Regions from separate parts of the Homo sapiens genome. Here all the other regions are linked to region 1. The links are contacts of gene promoters, found by promoter capture Hi-C in blood cells and fetal thymus (Javierre and others, 2016). All regions are on one chromosome and are shown on one strand. The core of a region is centred on a gene start or on the middle of the fragment in contact, and the rest is flanking DNA. Distances in the headings are between cores, read along the strand shown. Region 1 holds the start of APOO (apolipoprotein O). Region 2 overlaps EIF2S3 (eukaryotic translation initiation factor 2 subunit gamma). Region 3 overlaps ACOT9 (acyl-CoA thioesterase 9).

Region 1 (3,011 bases), core at 349-2,848:
CTCCAATTATATTGAAATCATCAAAATATTTTTTAAAACAAAATTATAGTAAATGTGTCTTCTTAATGCATTAAATGAGCTCTAATAACTACTGTATTTTTGTAGTAACGAGCATAAATATTTCAAGATCCCTGACATGACTGCAATGTAACATGAAAATATCTGTGCTTTCCATTGATGACAAAGTCATCAATGTTAATACTACTGTGGCTTGTTATCTACACTATAATTGAAAGAAACAAAGTTCAGTTAGAGGTTAGTGAAAATGAAGTTGTCATTTTTTCCCCCATACAAGTTCACATACCCCCTGAATTAAGAACTTCTGCCCTAATTTATCAATATGTTTCACATTTTTATGTATGTGTGACGTTACACTGCTGATGCAGAGAGCCTTCTGAGTCTATTCAGTATTTCTCCTTGGGGATGCCTTGGAATATACAATCCTCTTAAGAAAGAGAAAAGCAGCCCTTAACATCTGGGAGCTAAGCTGGGCTTAACTAACACCAAGGCTGGCAGTCACAGCTGGGCCTTGGTGTTACCACTGCTTCCTAACAACACCCGATCCAGAGCAAAGCTCCTGCTTCCTTGAACTCGCCCCAAAATCACCGAACCAAAGCCCAAATCCTATAATAAATCTAACTCTTTTACTGAAATATGTCACTGTGTTCCTACGTGTGCGTTCTCCTTGCAGCAATGAGAAACCCAATTTCTTCAACTACAGGTGTGCCCCTAGTGGTCTTTGGCTGGAGGGCAGTGGCACGTCACTGTACAAATTCTAAATTTTTCCAGATGCTCGCCTGGATGGGGCTTACACTTTTTATAGGATTAGGGCAGAAATACAGAATGAAATAGGAAATACATCCTCATTATGAGACAGTGCAACAATTGTTTTGGCTAGAACACAGGTTTCAAAGGCAGACTAATGGGTTTGGATCCTAGCTTCCCACTTCCTATGTGGTCTTGTACAAATTACTTCTACGTGCCTCAGTTTCTTCATCTATGTATTGGGAATAATAATCATGCCCACCTACTTCCGTTGTTGGAAAGATTAGATGAATGTGAATAAAGAACTTAGATCAGGGCTGCGCATATCAAAGTGCTGTATCAGTGCTTGTTTACTCTTGTTAATAAGATAATTATTGCCATTATCAGTTACTTCTACAAGTATTAAGGGACAAACATTTGATTTCCAGAGAGGAGGCTTACCGCTTGTTTCTTAACGGGAAAAAATAAGGTCAGAGCCTTTTCCGATTAAAGGACACAGCATATTAGTTTAAATTTAAAACCTGAGAAACCTCAAGTCCTTGGTTAAAACCTTTCGTAAGGTAAATCCAGGCCGCCAACCGGCGGCTTCCGGCTGCGAAGCTTTCGAAGCCGCCGGTGGCCCTCCAAGCGCCCCCTCTCGGCAGCCTCTGCTCACAGAAATCCCAGTACACGCCGCTGGGCGCCCAGTCGCCGCTGCAAAGACAGTTTCCCAGCGCCGCGGCAACGCCAGGCGCCTCCCTCCTCGCGCCTCCGCGTACCGTCCACACAGAGCCGGCGCTTTCTTGCCGCCTAGCAACCGCCGGCGCAGGGGCGGAGCCTCCTGGAGGGCGGGGTTTGCGTTCACCCGCTGCCCGGGCGCGACGCGCTGCGGCTCAGCGACGCGGCTTCTAGAACCGGGTGATTGAACTAAACCTTCGCCGCACCGAGTTTGCAGTACGGCCGTCACCCGCACCGCTGCCTGCTTGCGGTTGGAGAAATCAAGGCCCTACCGGGCCTCCGTAGTCACCTCTCTATAGTGGGCGTGGCCGAGGCCGGGGTGACCCTGCCGGAGCCTCCGCTGCCAGCGACATGTTCAAGGTGAGAGCGTGGAGTCGAGTCACAGCTGTCACCGCCCCCTCCCGGCCGCCCGAGCCCTCCCCGCGCTCTCTTGGGGCCTCTCTGCAGCCAGGCCTGGCTCACCCCGAGGCTTTTCCCGCCACTGGGCCGGCTGCGTCCCGGCCCCGCGGTTCATTCACTGGTCTACTGGGGATGAGCGGCTGCCGGGCGGAGGCGGGAGACCCCCGGGTGGGTGGGGGCGGCCCTTTGGGTTGTGCTTTCGTGAATTAAACACTTTGAAAATTTAAAGTGCCTTCCCCCAAAGTACCCATCCCCTCGGCTAGTACCCTCTTGGGATCGTGGGTAGGGTGAGGCCAGCTCAGGGCACTGTGGGGTTCGCGGCTTTAGTTGCCTGGCAGGGTCAGGTTTCAGAACCTGATGTGTGGATGGGGGAGGGTCATTTTAGGAGAAGCTGTGCAGGGTATGGGGGAGGCTGGGGTGGGATGGCTGGGTGACGAGGGAAGCTGGAGCTTTGCTCCACTCCTCAGGGAACATTATTTAATACGGGCCAGTGGACCCCCTTCCCTGCGTTTTGTGAACTCGTGTCCTTTGGAAAAAAATCGACTTTTACGATGAAGACTTAATTTCGAAAATCTGCACTTTAGCATAAAGCCATTATTCTACTTTTTAAAAAGTAAATTATATGTATTTTGTCATAAAAAATCACAGGCTACCAGAAATTAATCTACAAAATTGAGTCTTCAAGAAGCATAGTACCCATAAAATAGTGCTAATGAAATCTCAGAATTGTACTATTCATTTAAAAGTTTTATTGAGCTCTGCAATGTGCTTTGGGTACGTTAATAAAGGCTGTAAAATCAGAACATGCATTCTGCCTTCTAGTCCTGGCATTGCCACTTTCTAGCTGTGTGACCTTGGGCAAGTCACTGTGCCTATCTTCCTTTGGTGAAGTTGGGGTAATAACATCTACCTCATAGGGTTGTTATAAGGAGTAAGTTGGTATGTGTAAAGCACTTGGAAAAGGCCTAGTATTTGCTCTTACTCTGTTTTCAGGCAGCTCACAGTTTAGTCAGGAAGACAGATCCTATAATCAACATTCATTTGATAAATTTGTGTGTTAAACACCTGTTATGTGCTAGGAGCTCAGCTCCATTTCAGGGTTACAACAAGGAAAGATATGCTGTGGCCAG
Region 2 (3,122 bases), core at 40-2,539, 170 kb before region 1:
CTGTAATCCCAGCACTTTGGAAGGCAGAGGCGGGCGGATCACCTGAGGTTAGGAGTTCAAGACCAGCCTGGGCAACATGGTGAAACCCCATCTCTACTAAAAATACAAAAATTAGCCGGGTATGGTGGCAAGTGCCTGTAATATCAGCTACATGGGAGGCTGAAGCACGAGAATCACTTGAATCAGGGAGGCAGAGGTTGCAGCGAGCCAAGATCGTGCCACTGTACTCTAGCCTAGGTGACGGAGTGAGCCTCCGTCTCAAAAAAAAAAAGGAAAAGCACACGAAGTATAGGGACATGGGGAATAAGTTAAAAATCAAAAGGACTCACTCATTGCTTTCTAACATCTTTTACTTCTTGACCTTTTGAAACATCCAAAAATTAGTAGTAGTATAATCTATGTCACAATCATAATATAACAGTTAAGAAAAAACATAAAATGAAGGCCTAAAAAGATCTTTGTTACTCATCTAGAATTATTTGGTATAACAGTATTTTCCCATGGAGGAAGACTTGGATTTCAGGCATTAAACAACGCAGAAAAAAATCTCAAGGCATCACAGGGAGAGGGAGATAACTTTTGACTCTGGTTTCCCGTGTTTCAGGCCAGGAAGAGCAAGGGGAGAAAAATATTTGTCCATGGGAACAAGTAATCATGCTCTAAAGGACAATTTCATTCGAATCCATTCATTTCCTTTTCATGCAAAATTTCAAAGATAAAGCAACATAAAATATGGGGCCACATAAAAGGGAGAAGGTCTTCAAGGAGAATTTGTGCCTTTAAGTTTTTACTGGTACAACAGTCTTTCAGCCTGGAGGTACTCAAAGACGAATCATGAAAAAGAAAAAAAACTTTATTTCAAACAGGTTCAGTGATATATGTGTGTGCTACAGCAAAGGCTGGTTGTGGCAAAGTTTCATTTCAAACTGTATGATGTGGGCTGGGCAAGGTGGCTCACGCCTGTAATCCCAGCACTTTGTGAGGCCGAGGTGGGCTGATCACCCTGAGGTCAGGAGAGACCGGCCTAGCCAACATGCTGAAACCCCGTCTCTACTAATAATACAAAAATTAGCCAAGTGTGGTGGCGCGCACCTGTAATCTCAGCTACTCGGGAGGCTGAGGCAGGAGAATCGCTTGAACCCGGGGGGCAGAGGTTGCAGATCACGCCACTGCACTCCAGCCTGGGTGACAGAGCCAGACTCAAAAACAAAACAAAATAAAACAAACAAAAAAACAGAACTGCATGATGTATAATTTTGACATTATGTGGGAATGTTTAACTTCTGCCAAAATGTAGATTCAATCCAACATTATGCCAATTTTTATATTAATTTTAGTCCCTAAGTTTTCATAACCAAAAAAAAAAAAAAAAAAAAAGAGAATAACCTTACCGTTACCTACTAAGGTAACGAACTGTGAAATCAATTCCCCAATATTGCTTTGAAAATAAACCCCTTGGTTGTTAAGAGGAATTCCAACTTCCAAATCCATCCGAATGTATTATTTAACTGGTATTCTTCAGTCATCATCTACTGTTGGCTTGATTGTCACTCCTCTTCTTATCTGACCCCAACCAATTAAACTGCAAAATGAAAATAAAAGAAATCATAAATCTTACATCCACTTCACTCTCATTACCACACAATCTTGTGATAAATTTTACCTGCTTATCTTCTGAATTCAAATTTGTTCCCAAAGCCTGCTCCTCCATAAAGAAAGCCCACACTATATTCTTAGATTCTTTTTTATTCTTGCTTTTGTGTGTTTTTTCTGAGACAGTCTCACTCTGTCACCCAGTCTGGAGTGCGGTGGTACGATCTCGGCTCACTGCAACCTCTGGCTCCTGGGTTCAAACAATTCTCATGCCTCAGCCTCCCGAGTAGCTGGGACTACAGGCATGCGCCACCATGCCCGGCTGATTTTTTGGTATTTTTAGTAGAGATGGGGTTTCACTATGTCGGCCAGGCTGGTTGCGAACTCCTGGCCTCAAGTGATCCGCCCACCTCGGCCTCACAAAGTGCTGGGCTTACAGGCATGAGCCACCGTGCCTGGACTGAAAGTTTATTGCTTAAATCTATTTCAAAATACACTGGAAGTCGTGTGTCTGTAATAGCAAAAAAATATAATCACAAAAGACAGTAAAATCAAAAGGGCATAAGTCACCACAAATAATTATTTACTTAAGAGACAACAAAAATTTAACTTTCTAAATTACAGGGCAATAATTCAGATAAATCTCCTGGACAAGTGATGAGACCATCGTGGGCACAGTAGCATGGAAGCCTTAATAAAGGAAACAGGGCTGGGCGGGGTGGCTCATGTCTGTAATCCCAACACTTTGAGAGGCTGAGGTGGGAGGATGGCTTGAGGCCAGGAGTTTGAGATCATGCTGGGCAACACAGTGAGACCAAGTGTCTACAAAAAACAAAAAAATTAGCTGATCACGGTGGTGTGAGCCAATAGTCCTAGCTACTTAGACACTGAGGCTGCAGTGAGCTATGATCATGCCACTAAACTCCAGCCTGGTCAACAGAGAGACCCTGCCTCTAAAAAATATAAAATAAATAATTAAGGAAGTAGATAGTGGGTAGGGGTGATGTGAATAATTATGGGGACAGTTAGGGCACAAAACAGTCTAATTTAGAGGGTTTATATAAGACAATGCAGAAGGAAAGCTTAAATGGGTTGAAGCAGGTTTCTAGAAAAGTCCCAAATATCAAAAAGTAGTGAGAAGACTCTAGAAATTATTAAACACAGCATGATGAAAATGTTTTAAGAAGACTAATTTTGACCAAGTTAAGAGGCAAACTAGGAGTCTTTCGCACTAACTGTGAAGTGTAAAGTGATGGTGGTATGGACTGTGATGAGGTGACGAGGAATGGAAAGCAAGGGGCAAACTCAATAACCTGGGAAAGAGCAAAAAGTCAGGAGCCAAAAATGTGTGTATGCTTCCTGGCTCTATGCTCTCAAAAGACCTAGAAGCAACAGCACCCTAAGAGCCATGAGCACACCTGAACACTCAGCTTTTCATTTATAAGAGAAATGGCCAGTTCTAAAACTGGAACAGAGAAGGTACAAGATGAGTCTGGAAGATTTTGTGCCAGAAAATAAGGAAATGTTCC
Region 3 (2,910 bases), core at 369-2,868, 180 kb after region 1:
CCTTCTGCTTCTCTGGCTGCTCTTTTGTAGTCCCCTTTGTAGGTTCCTCTTTTTCTGTTGATCCCTTAAATGTAGGTTATCCCCAGGGTTTTGTCTTCTGCCCTTTCAAAAACTGATTATTTTTTGAATTTATTTTATTTTATTTTGTTTATTTATTTTTTTTGAGCTGTAGTTTCGCTCTTGTTGCCCAGGCTGGAGTGCAATGGCGCTATCTCAGCTCACTGCATCCTCCATCTCCCGGGTTCAAGGGATTCTCCTGCCTCAGCCTCCCATGTAGCTGGGATAACAGGCACACACCACCACGCCCGGCTAATTTTTTGTATCTTTAGTAGAGACGGGGTTTCACCATGTTGGCCGGGCTGGTCTCGAACTTCTGACCTCAGGTGATCCACTCGCCTCGGCCTCCCAAAGTGCTGGGATTACAGACGTGAGCCACTGCGCCCGGCCTTTTGAATTTTATAATTTGTTCATATTAATTAAATTTTAAGGCATTTTAAAATTTAACAATAAAATTGTTAAATCTTTTAAAATTATTTATTTAGTTTTTGAGACAGGGTCTCACTCTGTCACCCAGGCTGGAGTGCAGTGGCGTGATCACAGCTCACTGTAGCCTTGACCTCCTGGCTCAAGCAGTCCTCCTGCCTTAGCCTCCTGAGTAGCTGGGACTACGGGTGCACACCACCATGCCCAGCTAATTTTTTTGATTTTTAGTAGAGACAAGGTCTGCCATGTTGCCCAGGCTGGTCCCAAACTGCTGGACTCAAGGGATCCCCCCACCTCGGCCTCCCAAAGTGTTGGGATTACAGGTGTGAGCCACTGCGCCCAGCCCTATTTTTTCAGTTGAGGTTAAAATATAAAATTTACCATCTTTATCTTTTTTTTTTTTTTTTTTTGAGACAGAGTCTCACTCTGTCACCTAGACTGGAGTGCAGTGGCACCATCTCGGCTCACTGTAACCTCTGCCTCTCGAGTTCGAGCAGTTCTCCTGCCTCAGCTTTCGACGTAGCTGGGATTACAGGCATCTACCACAACGCCCAGCTAATTTTTGTATCTTTAGTAGAGATGGGGTTTTGCCATGTTGGTCAGGCTGGTCTCAAACTCGTGACTTCAGGTGATCCCCCCACCTCGGCCTCCCAAAGTGCTGGGATTACAGGTGTGAGCCACCGCGCCTGGCTCATCTTTATCATTTTTAAGTGTACTGATCAGTGGTAAAAACTACATTTATATTACATTTTCCTCCGTCTCTTCTCTACCCTTCCCTTCTGCCCTTTTTTGGGTTGACGTTGCAGATTCTCTATAAACTCATCTACTCCCAGTGTTTCAGTTGCTATCAGTATGCTGAATACTTACAAAGCTACATTTTCTGGCCTGCTTTTCTGAGTTTCAATCAATTTTTCCTCTTAGCTACTAGATTTATTTTTCTTTTTTAGAGACAGTCTCACTCTGTTGCCCGGGCTGTAGTGCAGTGGTAAAATCATAGCCTACTGCAACCTTAAACTTGCGGGCTCAAGTGTTCCTTCTGCCTCAGCCTCCTGAGTAGCTGGGACTATAGGCACACTGCACCATGCCTGGCTAATTTGTTTTGTTTTTTTGGAATAGGGTCTTGCTCTGTCACCCAGGGTGGAGTCCAGTGGTGCGATCACCACTCACTGTATCCTCGACATCTCGGGCTCAAGCATCCTCCCATCTTAGCCTCTCAAGTAGCTGGGACCACAGGCACACGCCACCATGCCTGGCTAATTTTTGTATTTTACTGTAGAGACGGGATCTCACCATGTTGCCTGGGCTGGTCTGGAACTCCTGGGCTCAAGTGATCCATCTGCCTCTGTCTTCCAAAGTGCTGGGATTACAGGCTTGATCCACCATGCCTGGCCTAATTTTTAAAGTTTTTTGTAGAGACAGGGGTCTCACTCTGTTGCCCAGGCTAGTCTCAAGCTCTGGGCTCACGTGATCCTCCTGCTATGGCCTTGCAAAGCCCTAGGATTACAGGTGTGAACAACTGTGCCCTCCCCAATACCTTCATTTGGATGTGCCATAGGCTCTTCAAATTCAACGCATTGAAAATGGCCCATTCTTTTCTTCCTATATTCTCTTTTTATTTTGAGACAGAGTCTTACTCTGTTGTTCAGGCTGGAGTGTAGCGGCATGATCATGGCTAACTACAGTCTTGACCTCCTGGGTTCAAGCAATCCTCCTACCTATCTCCCGAGTAGCTGGGACTACAGGCATGTGCCACCACACCTGGCTAACTTTTGTGTTTTTGGTAGAGATGGAGTCTCTGCTGTGTTGCCTGGGCTGGTCTTGAACTCCTAGGCTCAAGTGATCTTCCTGCCTTCGCCTCTAAAAGTGTTGGGATTACAGGCATGAGCCACTGTGCCCAGTCTCTCTTCTCTTTTTCAGTGACTAGTACACCACGCTTACCTATGCAAGCTAGAAAACTGAATTTATTCAAGTCTTCTCAGGTTTACCTTCTTCTTAACTCATAGTCTTTTCATTTCTACTCCTGTTGCCATAGGTTGGAGCCATCTGATTTCTTTGCTGGACAAAGACTTTTAAATGGAGTTTATTGCCTTTAGCCTATCATTCCCCCAGTGTGTCCTTTAGCAGGTGCATAGATGGAAGGATTTACACTTACTCAACAAGTATTTATTGAGCCACATATCTTGTCTGAGAGTTTGTGATACAAATTTGAATGGATCATGGGGGAAGCAGGGAGCCAATCAACATATAATCATACAACTTTTTTTTTTTTTTTTTTTTTTTTGAGACAGTCTTGCTCTGTTGCCAGGCTGGAGTGCAGTGGTACGATCTCGGCTCACTGCAACCTCTGCCTCCTGGGTTCAATTGATTCTCCTGCCTCAGCCTCCTGAGTAACTGGGACGCCACCACGCCCGGCTAATTTTTGTATTT

What was found. The method cuts DNA at HindIII sites, captures the fragments that hold promoters and counts their contacts. A CHiCAGO score of 5 or more calls a contact.
Region 2: a fragment that was not itself captured here is called in contact with the fragment with the promoter of APOO in region 1 in 1 of 17 cell types (activated CD4 T cells); the score reaches 5.8 in activated CD4 T cells.
Region 3: a contact is called between a fragment that was not itself captured here and the fragment with the promoter of APOO in region 1, in 16 of 17 cell types (monocytes, M1 macrophages, non-activated CD4 T cells and 13 more). The highest score is 15.6, in monocytes.

Annotation. Positions count from the first base shown.
Region 1 is chrX:23,906,525-23,909,535 of GRCh38, reverse strand. APOO (apolipoprotein O) reads left to right here and starts at 1,598. Exons shown (of 9, transcript NM_024122.5): 1 at 1,598-1,842. The coding sequence starts at 1,834. CXorf58 (chromosome X open reading frame 58) reads right to left here and starts at 1,530. Exons shown (of 9, transcript NM_152761.3): 1 at 1,207-1,530. RefSeq lists an enhancer at 1,639-1,848 and a silencer at 2,029-2,198. The HindIII fragment of the contact is 4,107 bases long and covers 1,368-3,011 here.
Region 2 is chrX:24,075,182-24,078,303 of GRCh38, reverse strand. It overlaps EIF2S3 (eukaryotic translation initiation factor 2 subunit gamma), which reads right to left. Exons shown (of 12, transcript NM_001415.4): 12 at 1-1,582. The coding sequence ends at 1,519. Among named protein-coding and RNA genes, the nearest start is that of EIF2S3, 22 kb to the right of the region's middle. The HindIII fragment of the contact is 2,776 bases long and covers 1-2,677 here.
Region 3 is chrX:23,723,454-23,726,363 of GRCh38, reverse strand. The region is part of intron 6 of ACOT9 (acyl-CoA thioesterase 9); the gene reads left to right. Among named protein-coding and RNA genes, the nearest start is that of ACOT9, 18 kb to the left of the region's middle. The HindIII fragment of the contact is 5,864 bases long and covers 1-2,910 here.